Regions from separate parts of the Homo sapiens genome. Here region 2 is linked to region 1. The links are contacts of gene promoters, found by promoter capture Hi-C in blood cells and fetal thymus (Javierre and others, 2016). All regions are on one chromosome and are shown on one strand. Each heading gives the region's core, a stretch centred on a gene start or on the middle of the fragment in contact. The rest is flanking DNA. Distances are from core to core; before and after follow the strand shown. Region 1 holds the start of GCSH (glycine cleavage system protein H). Region 2 overlaps MPHOSPH6 (M-phase phosphoprotein 6).

Region 1 (7,883 bases), core at 3,169-5,668:
TAGTTCAGGGCTTCTCAAACTGTCTGAGAGATGCTAATGGATGCTGTATTAGTTTCCCAGAACAATGTATCACAAACGAAGTGGCTTAAAACGACAGAAATGCATTCTGTCCCAGCTCTGGAGCCTGGAAGTGTGCAATCAAGATGTTGGCAGTGGCCGGGCATGGTGGCTCACGCCTGTAATCCCAGCACTTTGGGAGGCCGAGGCGTGCGGATCACTTGAGGCCAGGAGTTCGAGACCAGCCTGGCCAACAGGGTGAAACCCTGTCTCTACTAAAAATACAAAAATTAACCAGGTGTGGTGGCGGGCGCCTGTAGTCCCAGCTACTCAGGAGGCTGAGGCAGGAGAATCCCTTGAACCCGGGAGGCGGAGGTTGCAGTGAGCCTAGGTGGTGCCACTGTACTCCAGCCCGGGCGACAGAGCATGACTCCGTCTCACAAAAAAAAAAAAGAAAAGAAAGAAAAAAGATGTTGGCAGTGCCATGCTCCCTCTGAGGGCTCTAGGGAAGAATCCTTCTTGCCTCTTCCAGCTTTTGGTGTTGGCCAGCCAGCCTTGGTGTCCCTTGGCTTCTAGATGTGTCACTCCCAGATGGGAAGAAGCTTGCTGGGAGCCTGTGTTCCTTCTCCTTTTCTCAGCACACCAGCCATATTGAATTAGGGGCCCACCCTAGTCCAGGGTGACCTCATCTGAACTAATTATAATACATCTGCAGGGATCCTGTTTCCCAATATGGTCACATCTGAAGAACTGGGACTTAGGACTTTGACATACCTCTTTAGGAGCCACAATTCAAACCAGAACAGGTGTCATTCCTCCAAAAATGTTTCTGGGTCAAATAAATATGGGGAATACTGGTTTATAAAAGTTTTTTTGTTTGTTTGTTTGTTTGTTTGAGACAGGGTCTTGCTCTGTTGCCCAGGCTGGAATGCAGTGGCATGATTTCAGCTCACTGAAACCTCTGCCTCCCAAGATCAAATGATTCTTGTGTCTCAGGCTTCCCAGTATCTGGGACTACAGGCACACAAGAGCATGCCTGGGTAATTTTTGTATTTTTTTGTAGAGACGGGGTTTCACCATGTTGGCCAGGCTGGTCTTGAACTCCTGGCCTCAAGTGATCTGCCTACCTAGGCCTCCCACAGTGCTGGGATTACAGGCATGAGCCACCGCACCCAGTCTACTGTATTGTTATAAGAGGAAAATATGTCTATCAGCTCAAAGAGATGAATGGGCCCCTCTCAAAACACCTGGAAGAAATGACCACCTGGAATTTTCCAGAGCTTATACTCAATGGGCAACGAGATGACCTTTAAAATCTCAAACCAGGAGGTTACAAAGATTACTAGGTAGAAAAAGAAAAAAAATTTTGACTGTCTTCAATGCTTTTTACCAAAAGAAAAACACATGTCATATTTTTTGGTGGAAGGGCCTTTTTGTAGCCCATATGTTGATGTTGATGTGTGATCTTTTTCTTCCCATCACATGAGTTAGTGAAGCTGAGAATAAATATGTTAGGGTGTAAGTGGCACGATGCTGCACTGTCTTGTAATGAAACAACAATAGAAAACAACATCTTGACATTAGAGAAGGTAGCCAAGATCTGTAGTGCAGGGTAGACCAGCGTGATCCAGTCAGCATCCCAAACGAAAGCAAGCGGAGCAGAGCTTAAGAGCAATTGCTGGCCAGGCACGGTGGTTCATGCCTGTAATCCCAGCACTTTGGAAGGCCGAGGTGGGTGGATTACAAGGTCAGGAGTTCGAGACCAGCTTGGCCAACATAGTGAAACCCCATCTCTACTAAACATACAAAAATTAGACGGGCGTGGTGGCACGTGGTCCTGTAGTCCCAGCCACTCGGGAGGCTGAAGCAGGAGAATTGCTTGAACCCGGGAGGCAGAGGTTGCAGTGAGCCAAGATCACGCCACTGCGCTCCAGCTTGGGCGACAGAGCTAGACTTCGTCTCGAAAAAAAAAAAGAAAAAAAGAAGAGTTGCTTTCTAATCAGTGTAGAGGCCAAGGTCTACTACTGCCACCTAGGAGCTACTTAAGCCACAAAAACGCCTCCCCGATCCCACTCCTCGGAAGTGCCTTCACCTCTGAGCCTCATCTATGAAATGAGTGTAACACCTGCCAGAAAGAGGTTTGGAGAGGATTAAAAAGATGTGTGCATAGTGCCAGGCACATAGCAAAGGCTCAATAGATGGGAATGATTTGCTCAAAAGAAAGTGGGCATGACGGCCCTTGCAAGCCACTGCACAGATGTGGTGGCAACCCTAAGTTCATAGCAGGGCAGAAGCTCAGTGCAACAACGTATGGGCTCCCCAAACACACACACACTCCATGGTGTGCACCCTATGGTACTGTTTCCGGTGTTTGAACAAGAACAACTCCATTTTGAATATGGGCTGGGTAAAATGAGGCTGAGACTTGGTGGGCTGCATTCCCAGGAGGTTAGGCATTCTTTTTATTTGTATTTTTTTCTGAAGCAGAGTCTCGCTCTGTCACCCAGGCTGGAGTGCAGTGGCGTGATCTCGACTCACTGCAACCTCTGCCTCCCAGGCTCAAGTGATTCTCGTGCCTCAGCCTCCTGAGTAGCTGGGATTACAGGCACCTGCCACCATGCCTGGCTAAACTTTGGATTTGTAGTAGAGACGGGGGTTTCTCCATGTTGGCCAGGTTGGTCTCGAACTCCTGACCTCAAGTGATTCACCTGCCTCACTTAGTCACAGGATGAGCTAGGGTTGGCACAAGATACAGGTCACAAAGTCCCTGCTGATAAAATAGGATGCGGTAAAGGAGCTGGCCAAAACTCACCAAAACCAAGATGGCGACCTCTGGTAGGTCTCACTGCTCATTATACGCTAATTATAATGCATTAGCATGTTAAAAAAAAAACAACTCCCACCAGCGTCATGACAGTTCACAAATGCAATGGCAACGTCCAGAGAAGTTACCCTATAGTCCAAAAAGCGGAGGAACCGTTAGTTCTAGGAAATCCCTGCCCCTTTTCTGGAGAACTCTTGAATGATCCACCCCTTGTTTAGCATACAATCAAGAAATAACTATAAGTACACTTAGTCGAGAAGCCATACTGCTGCTCTGTCTACGAAGAAGCCATTCTTTTTTTTCTTTACTTCTCTATTAAACGTGCTTTCACTTTATAGACTCTCCCCAAATTCTTTCTTGCATGAGGTCCAAAAACCCTCTCTTGGGGTCTGGATTGGGAGCCCTTTCTGTAACAGTACTAAAGGTGTGTGTGTAGCTTAAGGTGTTTTTCAGAACAGTATTTCTTTGCTGACTCATGGCCACTCCATAAAATCTGTGTTAAAGGTGAGGTTTTTCCCAGAACCTAATTTTTTTCTGACTTCTTGGATTGGGATGATGACTTCGGCTTTTCTCGGAAGGCCTTGGTCACACCGCTGGCCGATGAAACAAGGAATTGTGCACACTGGGTCTCAGCTCTCTGCGTTTTGAATATTTCTGCATTAGTGACTGGCTTGGGTCCAGTCTCCACCAAGAAGCCACTTATGACCCTTGGACAAGTCTTTATTCCTTTTTAAGTAAGCTTCTGGATTCTGCCGGTCCTGTTTGGGGTCCCTGGGGCTCTTTGAGACAGGAACGTTACAGAGCAGTTGAAGGAGAATAGAAACTTCCAGGCTGCAGTTCTGTCTAACAAAAGGAAACTGTTGAAATAGCTGCACAAGCTATGGGCTAAGACCCTGAAAAACCAGGGTGTGGGTCAACCTGGCTAAAACCAACTGGACCCAACGTGGTGTGGCTTTGACCTAGGCTTCACCTAGGACTCATTAACATACTAAGTCACACACCCACCGGCACCACAACAATTCCGGGAACACCCATATTTGGTGTAAAAATGGGTGGCACCACAGTTCTGACAAGTCTCCACCTTATTCCAGAAACCTTTGTGTATATTCCATTTCTCAAAGAAACCCATAAAGATGGAAACCCCAAGCCCCATTGTGTGGCCCTCTTTTGAGTCCGCCCTTTCTTCAGTGTGTACTTTGCAGTAAACCTCTGTACTTTCACGACTTTCCGACTTGTTCTTGAATTCCTTCGTGAGGTGGTGAAACCACCTTTGAAAACTTATGACAGAGGCAGTAAAAGAGATACACATGTGGAAAGGAACCCAGTCTGGGGCTAGGCCCCGCCCCCCTCCTGCGGGCAGCCCAATCATACCCAGGCCCGCCGCGCTAGTCTCCGCCTCTCGGTGCTGCCTCTTCCGGGCCTCAGGTTCTTCCCCATGCCCACGCCCCTCTTTCGCGTCGCCGTATCCGAGGTCGCGCCAGGCCCTGGAGTCCCCAGTCTCCGCGTGCTGGCCAATCAGACCCTGCCTCGCCCCCTCGCCTGGGAGTCTCCGCCCTCCACGCTCTGCCCAGTCAGGCTCTGTCCCGCCCCCGCGGCACCGCCTCCGCGCCTCCATCCAGCCGGCTCCCTCCGGCCGCGAACTGCCCCTCCCCGCCCCGCCTCCCGGCGCGGGTGGCCGAGGCGTAGCGCTGCGACCCCCGCACCCCTGCGAACATGGCGCTGCGAGTGGTGCGGAGCGTGCGGGCCCTGCTCTGCACCCTGCGCGCGGTCCCGTCACCCGCCGCGCCCTGCCCGCCGAGGCCCTGGCAGCTGGGGGTGGGCGCCGTCCGTACGCTGCGCACTGGACCCGCTCTGCTCTCGGGTAAGCGCGGCGGGCACGTGGGCGGCTGCTCCCTCCCCGCCTGGGCTGCTTGTCCCGGGCCCAGCGGGACACGGAGGACGCCGGGGCACCGCTCCTGAGCCACCGGGGCGGAGCGAGCGCGGACCCTGCCCCCTTCTTATTTCTGTTGGGATCCCTGGCTCTGCGGCCGCTTCTCCCCCTTAAGTAGCGGGAGGACCCGCGAGTAGCCTTTGCCCTAGGGATTGCATGCAGCCGGGAGGGGAGGCCTGCGGGACACCGAGGCGGGGGTGGCCCGGCGGGTCCGGCGGGCAGGTCGGCCGCTTGCTGCAGAAGCCAGGCACGTGTCGCTTAAGCGTCTCGGTGGCCTTAAGTTTATCTCCCATCTGCGTGCATCGTTGAGACCCCAAATGGGGAGGCCTTTAGTTTACTAAATGGACCGTTACTGAGAACTCCGAAGTAAAATTAAAACAGAAGCGCTTATTAAAATTAAAGCACCAGGCAGGGCGCGTTGGCTCATGCCGGAGGGCGGATCACGAGGTCAGGAGATCGAGACTATCCTGGCTAACACGGTGAAATCCCATCTCTACTAAAAGTACAAAAAATTAGCCAGGCGTGGCGGCATGCGCATGTAATCCCAGCTACTCGGGAGGCTGAGGCAGGAGAATCGCTTGAACCTGGGAGGCAGAGGTTGCAGTGAGCCGAGATCGCGCCACTGCACTCCAGCCTGGGCGACAGAGCAAAACTCCACCTCAAAAAAAAAAAAAAAAAAAAAAATTAAAGCGCCAGATCTAGATTTTTTTACTAGATAAAACAATCATAACTTTGAAGATTCAGCTATTTCCCCAAAACAAGTAAGATAAAGTCTTCTGGACTCAACAGAAGTTCTGCTAAAGTTTGTATTGGATCATTCATGTGTGTGCTTGCTGAAATGAGCCCTAACTCAAACGGACTTGAAATAACTGGGAAACCTGCCCATGAATGTTTCGGCCATTTGTGCTACTTCAGCACAATTATTGCAGGGGAAAAACAATTTTCTTTTTTTTTTTTTTTCTTTTTATTGAGACGGAGCCTCGCTCTGTCGCCCAGGCTGGAGTGCAGCGGCGTGATCTCGGCTCACTGCAAGCGCCACCTCCCAGATTCAAGCGATTCTCTTGCCTCAGCCTCCCGAGTAGCTGGGTTCACTGGCGCCCGTCACCACCTCCAGCTGAGTTTTGTATTTTTAGTAGAGACAGGGTTTCGCCACGTTAGGCTGGTCTCAAACTCCTGACCTCAAGTGATCCACCCGCCTCAGCCTCCCAAAGTGCTGAGATTACAGTCGTGCGTCACCGCGCCAGGCCAACAATTTTCTTTACGCCCAAATGTTTGATACACTGACTGCTCCTCTGCTTCGATTGCGTAGATCAGTGATGGCTCTTGTCTCATTAGCTCATTGTTTTAGAAACCTGTTTGGAGCTGGAATGGTTGATAAATTTATTCCAAAATTTGTAGCATAAAGATTTACTTATGCTGTCTTGCTAATAGTCTGTCCGCTCTGTTTCTGATAGGGATCCCTACATCACTAATTTGAATACAAAGGTAAAGCATTTCTCAGATAAGAATTTAGTTTCAAGTCTGTGGTTTTCGTTCCTTTTTTTTTTCTTCTTTTTTGAGATGGAGTCTCGCTCTGTCGCCCAGGCTGGCATCCAGTGGCAGGATCTTGGCTCACTGCAACCTTCGCTTCCCGGGTTCAAACACTTCTCCTGCCTCAGCCTGTGGAGTAGCTGGACGACAAGAGCACACCTCCATCTCAAAAAAAAAAGAGAAGAAAAATTGACTAATACTAATATAAAATATTTTATCTGACTAGTGACATTGAAAAAGGAAAATGCAAAATTTTCATAAATTGCTCACAACTCCTAATTTTCCGAGGCCAAAAACCACCTTTTTCAAGGCCCAGTTAGAAAGTAATTATTGTCCAGGCACGGTGGCTCATGCCTTTAATCCCAGCACTTTGGGAGGCTGAGGCGGGCGGATCACCTGAGGTCAGGAGTTCAAGACCAGCCTGGCCAACATGGTGAAACCCTGTCTCTACCAAAAATACAAAAAATTAGTCGGGCGTGGTGGCACGTGCTTGTAATCCCAGCTCCTTGGGAGGATGAGGCCGAATCACTTGAACCCGGGAGGCAGAGGTTGCAGCGAGCCTAGATTGCACCACTACACTCCAGCTTGGGCGACAGAGTGAGACTCTGTCTCAAAAAAAGAAAGTAATTATTTACCTAATCTATCCACTTCTTCCTGTCGGGCCAAGGGTTAAAGGAGAATTGTACTAATCATTGCCTTTAGCCTAAACAGCATGCTTAGTAAAATAAAGACTTAGGTCTTTGAATCACTGCAACCTCTGCCTCCCAGGTTCAAGTGATTCTCCTGCCTCAGCCTCCAGGGTAGCTGGGATTATAGGTGCCCGCCACCATACCCGGCCAATTTTTTGTATTTTAGTAGAGACGGGGTTTCACCATGTTGGCCAGGGTGGTCTTGAACTCCTGATCTCAGGTGATCTGCCTGCCTCGGCCTCCCAAAGTGCTGGGATTACAGGCGAGAGCCACTGCTGTTGGCCAGGACTGAGGGGTAACATTACCTGTAATGTTGCCGTCTCCCTCTAAACTTGGGGCCAACAATTTTCTTTACACCCAAATGTTTGAGACACTAACTGCTCCTTGTTAAGGAGAATTGTACTAATTACAATTAGTAATTGCTCGGTTGCTAAAATGAGGGTCACAGCAGCCTTACTCCTAAAATTATCTTCACAGGTAGGCAAGATGGCAAGGTCAAAGAAGGTAGTCTCAGGTGGTGTTTATAGTTGTCCAGTGCTTACTTTGAAAAGGTGTTTTAGCTTCAAACTGCTCATAATTGGCATATAACCGGCGATTTGTAGCAGAGTGAGAGAATTAAGTGTTAAAGACAAATAACTATATACTATCTATTTTCCTCAGAATCCTCTTAATAAACTTTAAAAAATCACGTCATTCTGCAACTTTTTTTTTTTTTTTTTGGAGATGAAGTTTCGCTAGTCGCCCAGGCAATGGTGCAATCTCGGCTCACTGGAATCTCCGCCTCCCAGGTTCAAGTGATTCTCCTGCCTCAGCCTCCCAAGTAGCTAGGATTATAGGCGTGTACCACTACACCTGGCTAATTTTTGTATTTTTAGTAGGGACTTGGTTTCACCATGCTGGCCAGGCTGGTCTT
Region 2 (7,883 bases), core at 3,855-6,354, 1.1 Mb before region 1:
CTAAATGGGAGAAAAAAGGGCAGTTGGGCAGTATTGATGAGTTTTACCACGAGGAATATTAGTGATGAAATGAGGCATCTGCATTTAAAGAAAACCATCCCAGAAAGAGAATCTGGAAAAATAAGATAGGTCTAGGTTCATTTCCATTCAGAGAACTTTCACTGAGTGAGCTCTTTTGTGTACCAGGGGTGCCGCCTAAGTACCAATGATACAAGATGAACAAGAGTCATGGTCTATTCAGAATCGTAGTCCTGGGAGACACCAAAGCAGCACGATGGTGAACAATATTCCAGTGTTGATGAGGCTGTCTTGAGAATGTGCTTCTTTATAGGAGCAGACCTAGGAAGAGCCAAGCCAAATGCCAACCAGGAAGTCTTACCAAAGGACACACACTGTAGGCTTAAAAGAGTAAATATTTTGCCAGGCAGAAAATGGAAACGTGTTAAGTCGCAAAGGCAAAAGGACTGGGAAGTATAGCGTGCACATTCCAGAAACTGCAGTTCTTTCCTGGGATGAGGATGTACACACAGGTAAAATGGATGACGACTGCAAAACACTAGTCTGCAAACTTGTTTTCTTTTACTTTTTACTTAAAATAGTGATAGATTCACAGGAAGTTGCAAAAAGTGTACAGGGATATCCCGTGCGTCCTTCATGCCACCTCCCCTAGCGGCAACATTTTACAACACTAGGATATGATAAAGAGCCAGGACATTGACAGTGAGCTGACGCAGATTTCACCATTTTACACGCACTCATTTTGCGTGGACGGTTGCTGGGTCATATGGTAAGTGTATGTTTAGTTTGCTAAGAAACTGCCATGCTGTTTTCCACAGTGGCTGTACCATTTACTTTCCCACCAGCTATGTTTGAGTGATCAGTTTCTTCACATTCTCTTCAGCACTTGATGTTATCACCATCATGTGTTACTTAACACATGATTTAACAACAGGGATACGTTCTGAAACATGCATTGTTAGGTGATTTCATCATTGTGAGAGCATCATAGGGTTCATCTACGCAAACCTGGATGGTATAGCCTACCACACACTTAGGCTATATGGTACAGCCTGTTGTTCGTAGGCTGCAAACCTATACAGCATGCTACTGTACTGAATACTGTAGGCAGTTGTAACACAGTGGTGTCTGTGTATCTAAACATATCTAGATATAGAAAAGGTACAATAAAAATGCAGCATTGTAATCTTATGGGACCACTGTCATATATGGGTTCCATCGTCGACCAAACATCATTTTGCAGTGCATGACTATTTTATTCGTGAACGTTAAGGTTTTTTCATTTAACTTAGTAGTCATTGTTAAAGTGCTTATGCCTAAAAAGGCTTATGTTTGGAAAAGGTGGAATAGAAGGAGGAGAAATATGGGACCTGGGCCGGGCGCAGCGGCTCACACCTGTAATCCCAGCACTTTGGGAGGCCGAGGCGGGTGGATCACAAAGTCAGGAGTTTGAGACCAGCCTGGCCAAAGTGGTGAACCCCCGTCTCTACTAAAAACAGAAAAATTAGCTGGGTGTGGTGGCAGGCGCGTAATCTCAGCTACTCGAGAAGCTGAGGCAGGAGAACCTCTTGAACCTAGGAGGCAGAGGTTGCAGTGAGCTGAGATCGTGCCACTACACTCCAGCCTGGGCGACAGAGTGAGACTCTGTCTCAAAAAAAAAAAATAAAAAAAAAAATAAAAAAGAAATATCGGACCTGAATAAGGGAAAGAAATGGGGGATACATAGAAACCAGTGGAAGCTGAAACCTAACTGCTAGGAGGCTTCTGGGTATTTTCTGATTTTATTTTCTCCAGTGTTGATATTTTATCTTGTTGCTGTGGTTAGCCTCTTAAGTTTGTTCACTTGTTCCCTGAAGAAATACAGGTATTCATGCTAGTGAGAGACTGGCAGCAGGACTGTTATTTACTGCCATATTTTGAGTCAACTTTCTGCAGATTTGATAAGAGCAGCTCAAGAGTTTAGCAGCATTTCAGAGGAAAAATAAAAACGAAGAGCAGACTTATAGATGTACCTTTGCTTCTGCCTACATTTATCGGGCTCTTACTGTGCTTCAGTCATCATATTGGGACAGATGAAGGAGATGACCCAGACACCCAGTCCTTAAGGTCTCCAGAAAAGATAGATGCTCAGAAAGTTCAGATGTGGTGAGTCTATTGGAGGGAGCCATGGAAGCATTTAGGACAGAGGCACTGATTTTACTGGCACTCATAGAAGTCTAGTAGCTTTACCTATGTCAGACGGGCGAGGAGTTGGCCAGGTGGAAGAGGATAAGAAGGGCATTTCAACCCCAGATCAGCAGGTGCCAAAGCCAGTGGGCTCTGTGGGTGAGCACAAGACCTTCGAATGTGGTGTCTTAGCCCTTAAGTTTTCCGAAGGAAATATACATTGTGCATTTTCTCATGCCCTGACACAAGCCCTCATCGTCTAGTGTAAAGTTGGAAGGGTAGAGCTAAACCGTTTGATCACTTGCCCCAACCCTCAATCTTGAGATGGGTTCCATAGATAAATGAAGGAGAACAAGTAGAAGAAGAAAATTATTTGGGGTTTCCTCAGTTCTAAAATGGGAAAAGTTTCTGACATTGATTTTGTTTGTTTTCACAGTTTATGCAAAGGGGACTGGACTCAGAAACCAAGAAACAACTAGAAGAAGAAGAAAAGAAAATCATTAGTGAAGAGCACTGGTACTTGGATTTGCCAGAGCTTAAAGAGAAAGAGTAGGTTTATTAAAATTGATACTGATGATGCTTGTGGCATTCAGAAGGAAACTCCTGGTAAATTTAACTCATCATTCCGGTGACATAAAGCCCATGAAATTGTTTCTGTTCAGTTTATTGATTTAGTAGCACAACTAAAAAATATTAAACCTATAGAAGTTGTACATGGATTTATACATTTTTACTACTCCCCCTCCCAGCCACTATTTTGTCCTTTTTTACATTGAATGAAGGAACCTAGCCCACATATCTCTGATAGTAACAGCAGACCTTTGGGGAAGCTGTAATGTTCTCTCTATCACCTTAAGTTCTAAAGATTAGGGGTGTACTTCAGGTCTCTCCAGTTTTGTTTCGGTTACAGAGTTCATTAGGTTGAGCATTTTAAGGCAGGTCAGAAGTTTTTGTTTCTTCTTTTAAATTGTTACTACTTGTAATACCATCCATTTTAGCTAACATTTACTGAATCTATAGTGTGTACCAGGAACTGGGCTAAACACTTTACATCTGTAGTTATTGAATCTTCGTAGCAAACTTAGGAACTGCCTCCTATGATTCTGTCACTTTGTAGTTGAGGAACTGAGCTTAAGGGAGGGTAACTTGCCCAGCTTCACCCAGCTAGTCAGTGCTGAAGGCTGGGGTAGACAGTTTCTGGCCCACCCCTAAGCTTGGCTGGTGCCTGATCAACAATTTTGAATGAAGGAGTGTTGGATTTATTTCATCCATTAATTTAGCTGAATCCTTCTGGAAGCTATTTTTCATTTTTCCCTGATACTTTCCTCACCTTAGTAAGCTCTGTTGTATGGTAGTTTTACTTAAACTTTGGTCAAATGACTGAAGATGCTGCTTACTGTCTTGAGGCACATTTATGTGTTTCCATTCTGTACCTGATGTTTGGGCTTTGATTTGGAATGTTATATTCCCCTGTTCATTTGGCTGACCTCTGGACATTGTTTGAAGGTTAGATACCCTTCTCTAAAGATAGAAAGTATGTCCCACCAGGAGGGATCGGGAGAAGGTACTTTTTTTCTCTGCTTCTCAGAGGAAGCAAGATGTTGGTGAGGAGGGAGAAGATAGTGCCAGGGGCAGGGTCACAGGGAGGAAGGGACCTTTGCTGCTGGAGCTATAATTTACTTTTATGCCTTAAGTAAACTTGCCAAAGTGTTCCTTCCAGTTGTTTATTAAAGAGCAGGACTGTTTCTATCTTGTTTCCAGTATTTTTCCCCTAATACAGCATATTATTCCCAGAAAATGACCTTTACATTTCTTTCTGGGAAGGTAAATAATGCCTTTTTGCCATTACTCAGCATCCTGTTTATGTATAGGTGTGTATATCAGCTCAGGATGTTGGCAGGAGAAGATGACACTCTCAGACTGAGGAGAGACTATCAAGGTGTGGGTGGGGCATAGGGGGGCCCCTCGGGGCAGTGCAGCACCTCCTAGCATGTGTAGTGGGAGTGATTACCACCTGAGCTTGCAGAGTCAACGGGTGGGTGGGGAATAGCTGCTACCGAATCTGCAGATAAGTTGTGTAGAGAGAGCACCTTACAGGAGCTGCTACCTCCATTCACGGGTACGGCCAGCCCAAGGTCATCCTAGCAAGGGAGCCAGGTACCTGGCAGCAAAGGAGCCCTTCCGTGCATTACGTTCAAGTCAGCCTCCCAGGCCAGAGAAACAGGTGAAGACGGGAAGTAGGTCTGGAGGGGTGAATGGATGACATGTCCTTGGTATACGTGTTGTATTGAGTTGTTGTTTTTAACACTCTAAATAGGGAGATCATGGAATGGATTGGTTGATTAAGCACATGGGCTCTGAAGTCAGGCAGACCTGGGTTTGATGCCCAGCTCCGCCAGTTGTTTACTTGTCACCTTGGGTGAGTTACTTAACCTGTTTTGTGTCATTTGTGTATTGGGTATGATGATAGTACCTGTCCAGTACATTCCGAGAAGTAGATGAGGTAATATATGTAAAACAGTCACCATAACACCAGGCATAAAGCACAGTGATTGTCACCATTGTGTGTATTTCCTTATATCTGAATATATGAAGTACACCCATTCCTTTCTACTCACTTATGTTTGTGTATCCTTTTTTGCTAGTGTTGTCTTAACTATTCTGTGAATTTGGAGATTGCATGTGTCTGTGCTCTGAAAGTCTCGACTTTCCCATTTTTAATGTCAGCCGTATCAGTCTGTAATTCAGTGAAGATAATTAGGGCTATTCAGTGTTAACACTGCCTCACAGGGGACACTTTTAGCCAGTGGCTAGACCATGTAGGGGAATGATGATCTAGCTGCTGTGCCTCAACTTGGAACAACTGAAGGGCATTCCTGACTCCAGAGCTCTCATATGTGGCTGAGGCCTTAGTGTAGCCACATTGCCCATTATCTTCTCCCTCTGCCCAATCCTTCTTTCTCTGTTTTCCTAGAAGGGCATCTGCTGAACAACACTGCCTGCTAAGTTTTCTGCATATATGTCTGTCTCAGAGTCTGTTTCCAGGGAACCCGATATAGTGTGAATTCCTAGGAGTGAAATTTACCAGATGAAAGATTTTGCTATCTATTGCCTTATTGTTTTTTTCCCCAAGGATATGGTCCAGAAAGAGTGTGCAAGTATAGGCAGTTTAATTCCTCCTTTGCCGTAGCAAGTTGTTTAAGAAGTATTTTTGGCTATTGTACATCTTATACTTGTGTTTTGTGGTCTGTTTGGAGTCAGAAGCTATAGGGACCTGAAACTAACAAGTTAGCCTGCCACACTTTCACTGATGCTGGTGGAAGATAGGAACCTTCTGGGTCTGAGATGTAGGGGAGGGACAATAGCCTTTCCTTCCACCCATTTGAAGTTCATTAGTTGGGGTCCCTGTAACAAAAGACAGATTAACAAAGAGAAAGGTATACACTTTTATTTCACAAAAGTTTTAGGTGACACAGGAGCCTTCATAAGAAAATGAATACCGAAGAACTGGTTGAACCTGAGTGTTTTTATGTTAGCTTTGATGAAGAGTGGAAAGTTGTGAAGAAATATGATGGGAGCAAGGGGTATGAACGAAGAGTAATAAGCCAGGAGAAACTTAGCAAGTCTTTTGTTCAGATTCCTCTCTCTGTCCCTTCTTCTGAGATAAGGATGTTGCTTTCCTCTGAGTGTAGGGAGGGCACCTCTTATGTGAGATGCTTTTATGACCTGCTTCAGGGGACAGTCAGAAAATCCTACCTGCACGTCATTTTTCAGATTCCTCCAGTGTAAAATTTTCAGTATGCCAAGATGCCATATTTTGGGAGTAGTGTCTCCTGAACACCATCAGAAACAAAGGACTTACTGTACAGCAAGCAGCACAAGCATCAAGTTTGCGTCATTTCTCTTTTGTCCCCAACTCCTATGAGGGATGGCGTGAAGTGGCCCAGGTGGATGCTGTGCACCCAGTGGATTTGCATCATAGCTGAGATCTCCTGAGCTTAGAAAACTGGAACCTTGGATAACGGACCACAAGCAGACTTGCCTTCGGCCCCAAGAGAGGCATCTGTATTATGCTGGACAGTAAGCAAATCTGCCCTTCGCTTTAGAGGAAGACTGTTTTTCAAGGCTGCTCGCTATGCAGATATCCTTGCAAAGATAGTCCAGAGCAACCGGGCAGTTAGTGCCTCACTCAAAAAATGTGCAGGAATGTGAGACCCACTGAGAAGGGTTTTCTAACTGGAGTTTTGCCATGGTATTTGTGGCTTTAGGCAAGTCCAGCTTTTTCTGAGCAGTAGTTTCTCATCTGCGAAATTTATGAAATAATTTTGTGGGTGTGTTTTAGCCTGAAAATTATCCTCATTAATGAAAATTGGATAATTAAAATACAAAAAGAGGTAAGTTTTGAAATATTTCACTTGCTTGCCAACTCTGTAATTAATTTTTCTAATTCTTAAAACCATGCATGTAGATACAAAACACCTGTGCTCCTTTTTATATTAAAGATACGGTGTCAATGCAAACCCGTGGGAAAAACCTCTGAGGGGCCAGTAGTCCTGCTCTGAATCCAGTCCTGACCTCTGGAGGTTGTCTTTCTCTGGGTCCCTCCTTTGCCTTAAGTGAAAGCTTTGATGTATGGTGCTTTCCTGAGAGAGATGATTTACTTTGGAATTGAGGAGGTCTCATCAGCTGCTCCCTCTATAAGGAATAAGATTGGGCAATTGAGAGGGAATCCCAAGTTCATAGAAAAAGCTGAACAGCAAGTTCTGTGCCCAAATTTAGATTCCCTCAGGGAGAGGCGGTTCTGAAGTAAGTGAGTTTCTAGCCAGACTAGAGGGCCAGTGAGAGAGGAACCAAAATCACAGTGGTTCTCAGAGTTTTGGAACTCAGAAGCTATTTGCATTTATAAAAATTATTTAGAACTCCTAGGCCGGGCACGGTGGCTCACACCTGTAATCCCAGCACTTTGGGAGGCCGAGGCAGGCGGATCACGACGTCAGGAGATCGAGACCATCATGGTTAACATGGTGAAACCCCGTCTCTACTAAAAATACAAAAAAAATTAGCCAGGCATGATGGCGTGTGCCTGTAGTCCCAGCTTCTCAGGAGGCTGAGGCAGGAGAATCACTGGAATCCAGGAGGCGGAGGTTGCATTGAGCCGAGATTGCGCTACTGCACTCCAGCCTGGGCAACAGAATGAGACTCCATCTCAAAAAAAAAAATTTATTTAGAACACCTAAAGAGTGTTTTGTGTGATTTATATTTGTTAATATTTACTATGTAAGAAATTTTAAAAATTATTTAAATAACAAATTCATTACCTAACACATTTTTAATGACAAATAACTTTTTCAAGACAAAAAATTTAACGAGAAGAGTGGCACTGTTTTCTGTTTTTGCAAATCTCTTTAACATTGTGGCATAATAGAAGACAGCTAGACTCTGAACGCCTGCAGTCAGCCTGTTAAAGCATGTTGTATTGGTTGAAGTATATAAAGAAAATCCCCCTCACACAGGTGATACAGTTGAAAAGAGAGGAGTATCTCAATGGCCTTTTCAGATAATTCTTTGGTACAACTCCAAAACTCAGTCAGTAGTAGTTTCTTCAGAGTAAATTGCAACGTGGAATCTGAAAACACCAGTGAATTTTTCATGTCTTGGTCTGTCTTGTATTCCAAATAGATCTTTTACCTGTATATGAT

What was found. Contacts are between HindIII fragments. The CHiCAGO score rates a contact against its expected background, and 5 or more counts as called.
Region 2: a fragment that was not itself captured here is called in contact with the fragment with the promoter of GCSH in region 1 in 2 of 17 cell types (fetal thymus and naive CD8 T cells); the score reaches 6.6 in fetal thymus.

Annotation. Positions count from the first base shown.
Region 1 is chr16:81,092,930-81,100,812 of GRCh38, reverse strand. It overlaps GCSH (glycine cleavage system protein H), which reads left to right and starts at 4,418. Exons shown (of 5, transcript NM_004483.5): 1 at 4,418-4,682. The coding sequence starts at 4,535. RefSeq lists silencers at 4,082-4,181, 4,332-5,001. The HindIII fragment of the contact is 7,249 bases long and covers 3,563-7,883 here.
Region 2 is chr16:82,158,932-82,166,814 of GRCh38, reverse strand. MPHOSPH6 (M-phase phosphoprotein 6) reads left to right here. Exons shown (of 5, transcript NM_005792.2): 2 at 2,621-2,733. Among named protein-coding and RNA genes, the nearest start is that of MPHOSPH6, 7.4 kb to the left of the region's middle. RefSeq lists cis regulatory regions at 822, 959, 3,612, 6,015 and enhancers at 750-894, 887-1,031, 3,540-3,684, 5,943-6,087. The HindIII fragment of the contact is 3,410 bases long and covers 3,400-6,809 here.